Linked DNA regions of Homo sapiens: region 1 is linked to region 2. Evidence: promoter capture Hi-C in 16 types of primary human blood cells and fetal thymus (Javierre and others, 2016). All regions are on one chromosome and are shown on one strand. Each heading gives the region's core, a stretch centred on a gene start or on the middle of the fragment in contact. The rest is flanking DNA. Distances are from core to core; before and after follow the strand shown.

The links. Contacts are between HindIII fragments. The CHiCAGO score rates a contact against its expected background, and 5 or more counts as called.
Region 1: a contact is called between a fragment that was not itself captured here and the fragment with the promoter of SLC25A36 in region 2, in 1 of 17 cell types (activated CD4 T cells). The highest score is 5.4, in activated CD4 T cells.

The regions. Positions count from the first base shown.
Region 1 is chr3:143,975,681-143,979,144 of GRCh38, forward strand. The region is part of intron 1 of DIPK2A (divergent protein kinase domain 2A); the gene reads left to right. Among named protein-coding and RNA genes, the nearest start is that of DIPK2A, 5.6 kb to the left of the region's middle. The HindIII fragment of the contact is 1,255 bases long and covers 1,136-2,390 here.
Region 2 is chr3:140,940,126-140,944,056 of GRCh38, forward strand. SLC25A36 (solute carrier family 25 member 36) reads left to right here and starts at 1,711. Exons shown (of 7, transcript NM_001104647.3): 1 at 1,711-1,970. The coding sequence starts at 1,930. RefSeq lists enhancers at 1,685-2,054, 2,148-2,995, 2,635-2,864. The HindIII fragment of the contact is 2,098 bases long and covers 635-2,732 here.

The DNA of each region.
Region 1 (3,464 bases), core at 513-3,012, 3.0 Mb after region 2:
CATGTATTAAAAAATATATTTTTAAGAGTACAAGTGTTTTAACAGCTTGAAGAGGAACTCACTTTTTTCCTCCAGGAGAGGGAGCTACTTGTCGAATTTTTGGACAGCTGGTGACAAACTAGATTTTTCTTATATTGTCCAAAAATTAACAACTTCAGGGAAAAAAAAGTCTTTGAACTGACTTCATCCAAGTATTCTTAACAAAACTTCCAGTATCGTAAGCATGCTTCAAAATAAGCATGTAAAAATTTCTTTTGATAAGGTGTTTAAGAACTGAAAAATACTTACGAATTTAATCCATTAAACTCACCTCTTCTGATTTGAAAAAACAGTAAAAAATTGAAGTTGCTATTATTCCTTGAAAGGAGAGGTGAAAGACATTAAGTGTCTAAGATGTTTACACACATACCTTATCTATGTAAGGCTGTAAAGATTTGTGATATAAATTTCCCCATATGAAATGGCATGAGAGTATGGCTTTCTTCTTATTGTTGGATAGTTTCACTAGTTTACAACAGTTTACCCATAGAATTATTATCTTCTAAAAAATGTTTATAAACATCAAGCAACAAGATAATGCTAGTAGTACCTTTATCTTCTACTCTGATACCCTTTCCTCGTCGTCACATTTTTACTTCACTAAGATGTGTGTATTTTAGTGCCAGGTATACTGTAATCCTATGAAAAAAAAAATGGAGGAGAGGAACTATGTTGACTTTTATATTGTGTAAATAGGAATCTTGAAGTATTCAAAAATTGAGTTGTTGAAGTAATTGGCAAGATCACAAGTTATTGTTGATAAATTTTCCATCGTATTTGTATTTAACCTATTGAATTTACAGAAAGGGAGAGTGTGTGTGTGTGTGTGTGTGTGTGAGAGAGAGAGAGAGAGAGAGAGAGAGAGATGCTGTCTGGATTTGTTGAAGTTCAGACAGAATCTCTGACTTTATAACCTGGAAGTAGTGAAGATGGTCTTGTTTGTAGGAAATGGAGAAAGCTCTTTGTTGTTTAGGGGGACGAGCTGGGAATGTTACTATTTGTGGAACTTCATTTGCCTTAAATTTTCTGAATCATGGTTTTAATAGGATTTACTTTATTTTTATAGTATATGACTATCATTAAGCTATGGTTTTTAAGCTTGCTTTTCTATTCTTATAAATGATATAATACATGCAAAGCACTTCACGTAGTATCTGGTAAATTGTAAGCATTCAATAAATGTTAGATATTGAATAAAGTAAAGGTAACTTTAACTGCCTGGTGCATTTGATCAGCTGTTTTGAAGCTCATTTGGGGTATGGATCACCTTAAAAATAATGGTGATTTTGAATATCAACCATACTTTAGTTATACTGATTTTTTTCCATTATTACTTTGATATAATTTTTTGTAGAAAACTTTCAGTGAATGTTGTTTTTGCCTTTAAAAGTAATTTATATAGGGAACAACATATTTTTTAAGTTCACTGGTGAAAATGTAGTTTTTGAAGTAAACAAAAGATTATTTAGCTAACGGTACTTTAGAAAAGTTGATAGATTTTTACTATTGGACTCACTTCCTTCTTTATAAAATGAAGCTATTGGATTAGATCCTTTTCAGCTCCAACATTCTGGGGCTTTCAAACTCTTGAGAAATTTGGTTTTTATTGTTGTTGTTGTTGTTGTTGTTTTCTTTTGAACTTTAACGAGTGGGTTTAATTAAGCTCTTCTGAAAGGGGATTGGGAGTGGGATGCTCTCTTTCAAGCCTTTCTTCCTACCCCCAAATTTTTACACACATGAAATAAAACAAAAACCAAAACCTTCCTTTAAGGGGAAATATGTGGAGTTAAGGGTAGCCAAGGATCTTGTGAGGCAATAGTGTGCAAAACGATGTTCCAGACTTTGTTTCAGGAGTTTCTTTTCAAACAACAGTTTAAGGAACCACCTACTTCTCCTTTACTGGCTGTTTCTTTAGTAACTGTCTTCCTAGATTTCGGCTTCAGAACACATTAGAGATGGTTCTTAGTAGAGCAGTTTTTAATCTAATAAATTTTGTAAGTTTTTGAACTTTTTGTGGCTTTTCATCTGAGAGTCCATTGACACTTTTGATTGCTCTTCAAGATAATCAAACAAAAATAATAAAACAATTTTGGATACCTCAAGTCCAAAAAGGGGGTGGGGACTTTTATTTTAGAAAGACCCTAGAAACAGACAATCGCCCTTAAGAAAGCATCACTTCAGAATCAGTAGAGCAAAGTCATTTGACATCCTGGACTAGTTTCTGGACATATCCATATCTTTTGACCATTTTGAATTTTGTCCTTTGTATACTTTTGTCTAGTCTTTGAACTATTCTTTATATTTCCATTGCATAGGTTAGCACATATTCTCACACATGTTGGGAAATAGAAAGCTTGTTTTTATAGGTCTTCTGGACATGGGTGTCCAGCTTCTCAGGGGATTGTCAGACTGGTTTTTATTCTGTTTTTTTGGTTTGTGGGCTCTGGCTTACTTCCTATTTTTCTGTCATTGCTGCTGACTCTTCACAGAATGCTATTTTTTTCTTTCTTCAGCTTTCACTCATTACCCATATGTTAAATTATGGCCTTATAATTTAAATCCTGCATTTTTCTAATACATTTGATGAACTTTAGTAAATGGTTGTAACATGACTGAAAATTATTAGTGTAAGGTGAGGTTAGTATAAGGTGATAGGAAGTTGTCTGTGAAATTCTTGAGAGCTCTTTGAATTTATAACCAAAAGAACTGAATTTGTCTGTTCATTTTACAATCTGTTACAAGGCATTTGGATTGAAAGGATGGAAAGATGGCCGTAGGAAACAAGTAGCTTACTATGTAGGAGGTAGGTACACAAATAACTAATTATTATACAATCCATTTAATAAGCCCTGTACAAAAGGTATCTATATCTATCTATCTATCTATATATATATATCTATATCTATATATATATATATATCTATATATATATATATATATCTATATATAGATATATATATATCTATATATATATATATATATACTGTCACATGACTCAGGGAGGGACATCTCATTGTATATTGATAGGAATGGTACCAGGGAAAGTTTCAGAGATTTTGCCAATAGATGGGGGTGGAGAGTGGGAGGAAGGGTGGAGGGGGCAGTATTGATAGAGCATCCATTTCACATTCTGTATTACCACAAAGTTGTTGGATGGTATTGAGCAAGTCACTTAATGTTTCCGATTCTAAGTTTTTTTAATCAGTAAAATGGGGTTGTTAATACTTACCTAACAGGATTGTTTTAAAGATTAAAGAAGAAAGGATTATTCAAGTAATATCTGTTAAATGTTTTCAGTTGTAAAGCTTTTTACAGTGTATTATTTCTTTGAAAATCAGCTTATTCCATTTTTAGACAGCTATAGTAGTTAAAAGTTCTTTAGTACATTATGCTGATGTCTGTCTTAGAAATGTAAAAATCCTACT
Region 2 (3,931 bases), core at 461-2,960:
AAGATTGGGTGGAAGAATGGTGAAATCAAGGATGCTTTACAAAAGTTTGATGGGGAAAATTCCCCCAAAGAAATCTGAAGTTTACAAATGGATAACTTGTTTGCAGAAGGGATGAGACAATGTTGAAGAGGAAGCCTGCAGTGGCAGACAATCCACATCGATTTTTGAGGAAAAGATTATTCTTCGGTGTGCCCTAATTGAAGAGGACCCACAATTAACAGCACAAATAATATACAACACCATAGACATTTCAACTGGTTCTACTTACACATTTCTCACTGAAAAACTGAAGTTGAGCAAACTTTTCACCCGATGGGTGCAAAACTGTTGCACCCAGATGAGCTGCAGACAAGAGCAGGGCTTTCAATGGAAATTGTAAACAAGTGGGATCATATATTGAAACATTTCTTTGAAGAATTGTAACAGGAGATCAAACATAGCTTTCTCAGTATGATTCTGGATCAAAGCAATAGTTACCAAGAGGTGCAAGTGGTCCAGTCAAATCAAAAGTAGACTGGTCAAGAGCCGAAGTCATAGCAGCAGCTTTTTGGGATGCTCAAGGTATTTTGCCTGTTGACTTTCTGGAGGGTGGAAGAGCAATAACATCCGCTTACTATAGGAGAAAGTGAAGCAAAGCTTTAGCATAAAAACACCTACGAAATCTTCACCAGAGAGTCCTTCTCCATCAGGACAATGTTCCTGCTCATTCCTCTCTTTAAATAAGGGCATTTTTCCAGGGATTTCGATGGGAAACTATCAGGTATCCATCTTACATTCCTGACCTGGCTCCTTCTGACATATTTTTGTTTTCTAATCGTGAAAAATCTGTAAATGGCACCCATTTTTCTTCAGTTAATAACGTAAAAAAGCCTGCATTTTCATGATTAAATTCCCAGAACCCTCAATTCTTTACAGATGGACTAAAGAGCCGGTATCATCACTTACCAAACTGTCTTTAACTTGATGGAGCTTACGTTGAAAAACAAAGTTTATATTTTTAAATTTTATCTTTTAATTCCATTTCCCATGAACTTTTATTCTTTTAAAAACAAACCCAAGTATTTTAATTCTACTTGCCTTTTTTACTTATTACACACTTCGGGAGATTTTTTGCCATATGGAATCACCTCATCCCTTGTCACGATTGCATAATATTCCATAGTAGGAATGTTTCATGATTTATTTCTTCATTCCCCCACTGATTTCAATTTTCTGCAACTGCAAGCATTGTTCATAATTCTGTACTGTTTGTGAGCCTATATAGGAGTATCCGTGCACAAACCTTTTTATGCATTGTGCGAGGGTTACTCTGAGATAGACACCAAGGGAACTGCTGGGTCATAAATCCAATTTTTTCAAAGTAAATCCGCTTGCGAACCCGGAACCAAGTCGATTTTTCCCGCCCCGCCAGTTCCCTGTTCAGGAGAGTGCAGCCGTGATTGGCGCGTTCACTCAGGCCAGGGGCGCCCCAGGTCTCAGGTGCTAGGAGCGCGGTGACCTACCACCCTCCGGGCACGCGTTCTGGCCACGCCTCGCGGCCCCTTTCATTGAAAGAGCCCGTAGGGATCACGTGAAAGAACACTGCAGAGTGCGTGACGTCACGACGCTCACACCAATGGGAGCCTCTGTTTATGTCGGGAGCCATCAAATAGTCATCTTCCCCCTACCATCCCCCGCCCACTCTCCGTCGCGCTGCGCTGCGTCGCTTTCAGCCTCTGGTGAAGGGCGGCGCGCTTAGGCAGGCGGTGGCGCGGCTGGAGTGCCGCGGGGAGGGCTGTGCCGGTTGCTTTCTGCAGCCGCATCTCGGCCAGCTCTCCTCGCCGTCCCCGGGGCGCTGTGCGTCTCCAGTCCGGGACCGAAGCCGCCTGCCGTAGCGGGCGGCCAGATCCGCGTCCCGCCTCAGCGGCCGGAGGACATGCGGGAGAGAGAATGAGCCAGAGGGACACGCTGGTGCATCTGTTTGCCGGAGGGTAAGGTCCTGGCGGGGCGTGCGCACTGGGGCTGAGGGTGCTGGGGCCGAAGACGCAGGCGAGGGGGGCGAGGGGGGCCGAGGGGGGTGGGGGGGTGGGGGGGCGGGAGTGAGGCCTGGGCGGGGAGCTGCCACGGGCCTGCGGGTGAGGGGAGCGACCCAGCCCGTGGGTGGTGAGGGGGGCTCCGGTTCGGGGAAGCAAGGGGGTGAGGCCCGGGCCCGAGGGCGAGAGAGTGAGGCCCGGGCAAAGAGGGTTGAGGCATGAAACCCGGGCCGGGAGTGAGGTTTTGGGCCCGCGGGGCCGGGGTGAGGCGGAGGCCGAATCCATGCGTCTGAGGAGACGCGGGCAAGAGCTGGGGTCGGCGCTTGATTACCCGGACGCCGCTGGACCTGGCCGCACGCCGCAATCTAGCAGGCGTCGGGGATCCAGGGCCGCTTTGAGGAGCCTGGCTTCGGATTTCGCGTAGGTTGCATGGCCCAAGGGGACGGGGCGGAAAGTGCGGAGGCTGAGGACAAAATGGGCGCCGGAGACTCCTTTAGCCCTCGCTCCTTGCAGCGCTCGCTTGGGCCTCTGCACGTCACTCACGCCCCACCTCGGACCTCGGGCCGCTCATTTCCGGGCTCGGCTTTGCAAGGTGGGTGGTAAGGGGGCTACGGGATCGAGCGGGGAAGGCTTTGGTATTCTCCCGTGGTTGCTGTAGGGTGTTTCTAGCCCTTGGAAAATTTCTTGCCCGAGGTTTTCCAGGTGGTGAATGGGGTGCAAAGCTTTCCAGTACCTTTGGGGTCAGATTCCTTTCGAGAAAACCACCCCTCTTGAACACCGCTTGCTTTTCTGCTGCTTAGGAGAAAGTAGGAGTGGAGAGAGGTCAGATTTTTTGAAGATAGTGTTAATAGTTACTATGTGTGTGCAAGATTAGGACTAAGCCTAAAGTCTTAGTTCCCTGATTGCCAAAATGAGTGTTAGAGCTTCCAGTTTAGCCTCCTGTTTAGATTTGCTCCTTCTAAATCATTTGGAGAATCATAGCAATTTTAAGAGTTACTTATTTGGAGGATTATAAAGAGTTTTCTTATCAAAAATGCCTTCGGTGAATTATGCTGAGACTCTTACCGGCATCTTCTTAAATCCTGCAGTTTTTAGATCGACTTTTAAGAATATGAAAGAAATACACACGCAGTTCTATTCACGGTGCCTTGCTTTGAGTTGGACATATGGACTCTATTGAGCCAGTGATGGCAATACTTTCTTTAGGTTGGCACACTTTCATCAACAAATATTTGTTGTACACCAATTATGGGCCGGCCACTGTTCTGGCATAAAAACAATATTTTTCTATTGATCTGTGAGACCCAGTTTAGGCAGTTTGCTTTCCATATTTCTGAAATGTTTACTGCCAATAATCAGGCAAATTAAATCTTTTTAAAAAAATTCTGTAGCTATGTAGATGCTCTTGAAAAGATCTCATGCAAATAATTGAGCTCCCTCTTGTAATTAGATCTATAACCCTGAAGTGAGGAGACCGCAGATGTAGTCTAGCACTATTTTAATTTGGGTGAAAAATGGACACTTTTATTTCAATTGCTTCATCTATAAAATTAGGAGGTTGTATTATATGATCTCTAAAGCCCTTCTCTAGCTCCTAACATTTCTATTATTCTGCGTTCAGGATTCATGTATCAAGTTTAGTTAAAAATGGGGCATACTTATATTTGAAATAAATGTTAGCTTGATTGCACTAATTTCCCACTTTGGATTAGGATCATCATTTTGTTATAAAAACATGTAAATATAGGTTTTCTGGTTTAAGAACAGGAATGGGAGGTGTTTGTAGCATCTAAACACACAGATTAGGAGCTCCATCCCCTCCCCCCCAGTCTAGCATATGTAGTTAGAGTATTAAATGAGATATGGTATGTAGGATTTGATACAAGATAGGTGCTCAGCCGTATAATTTCTCTTCCTTT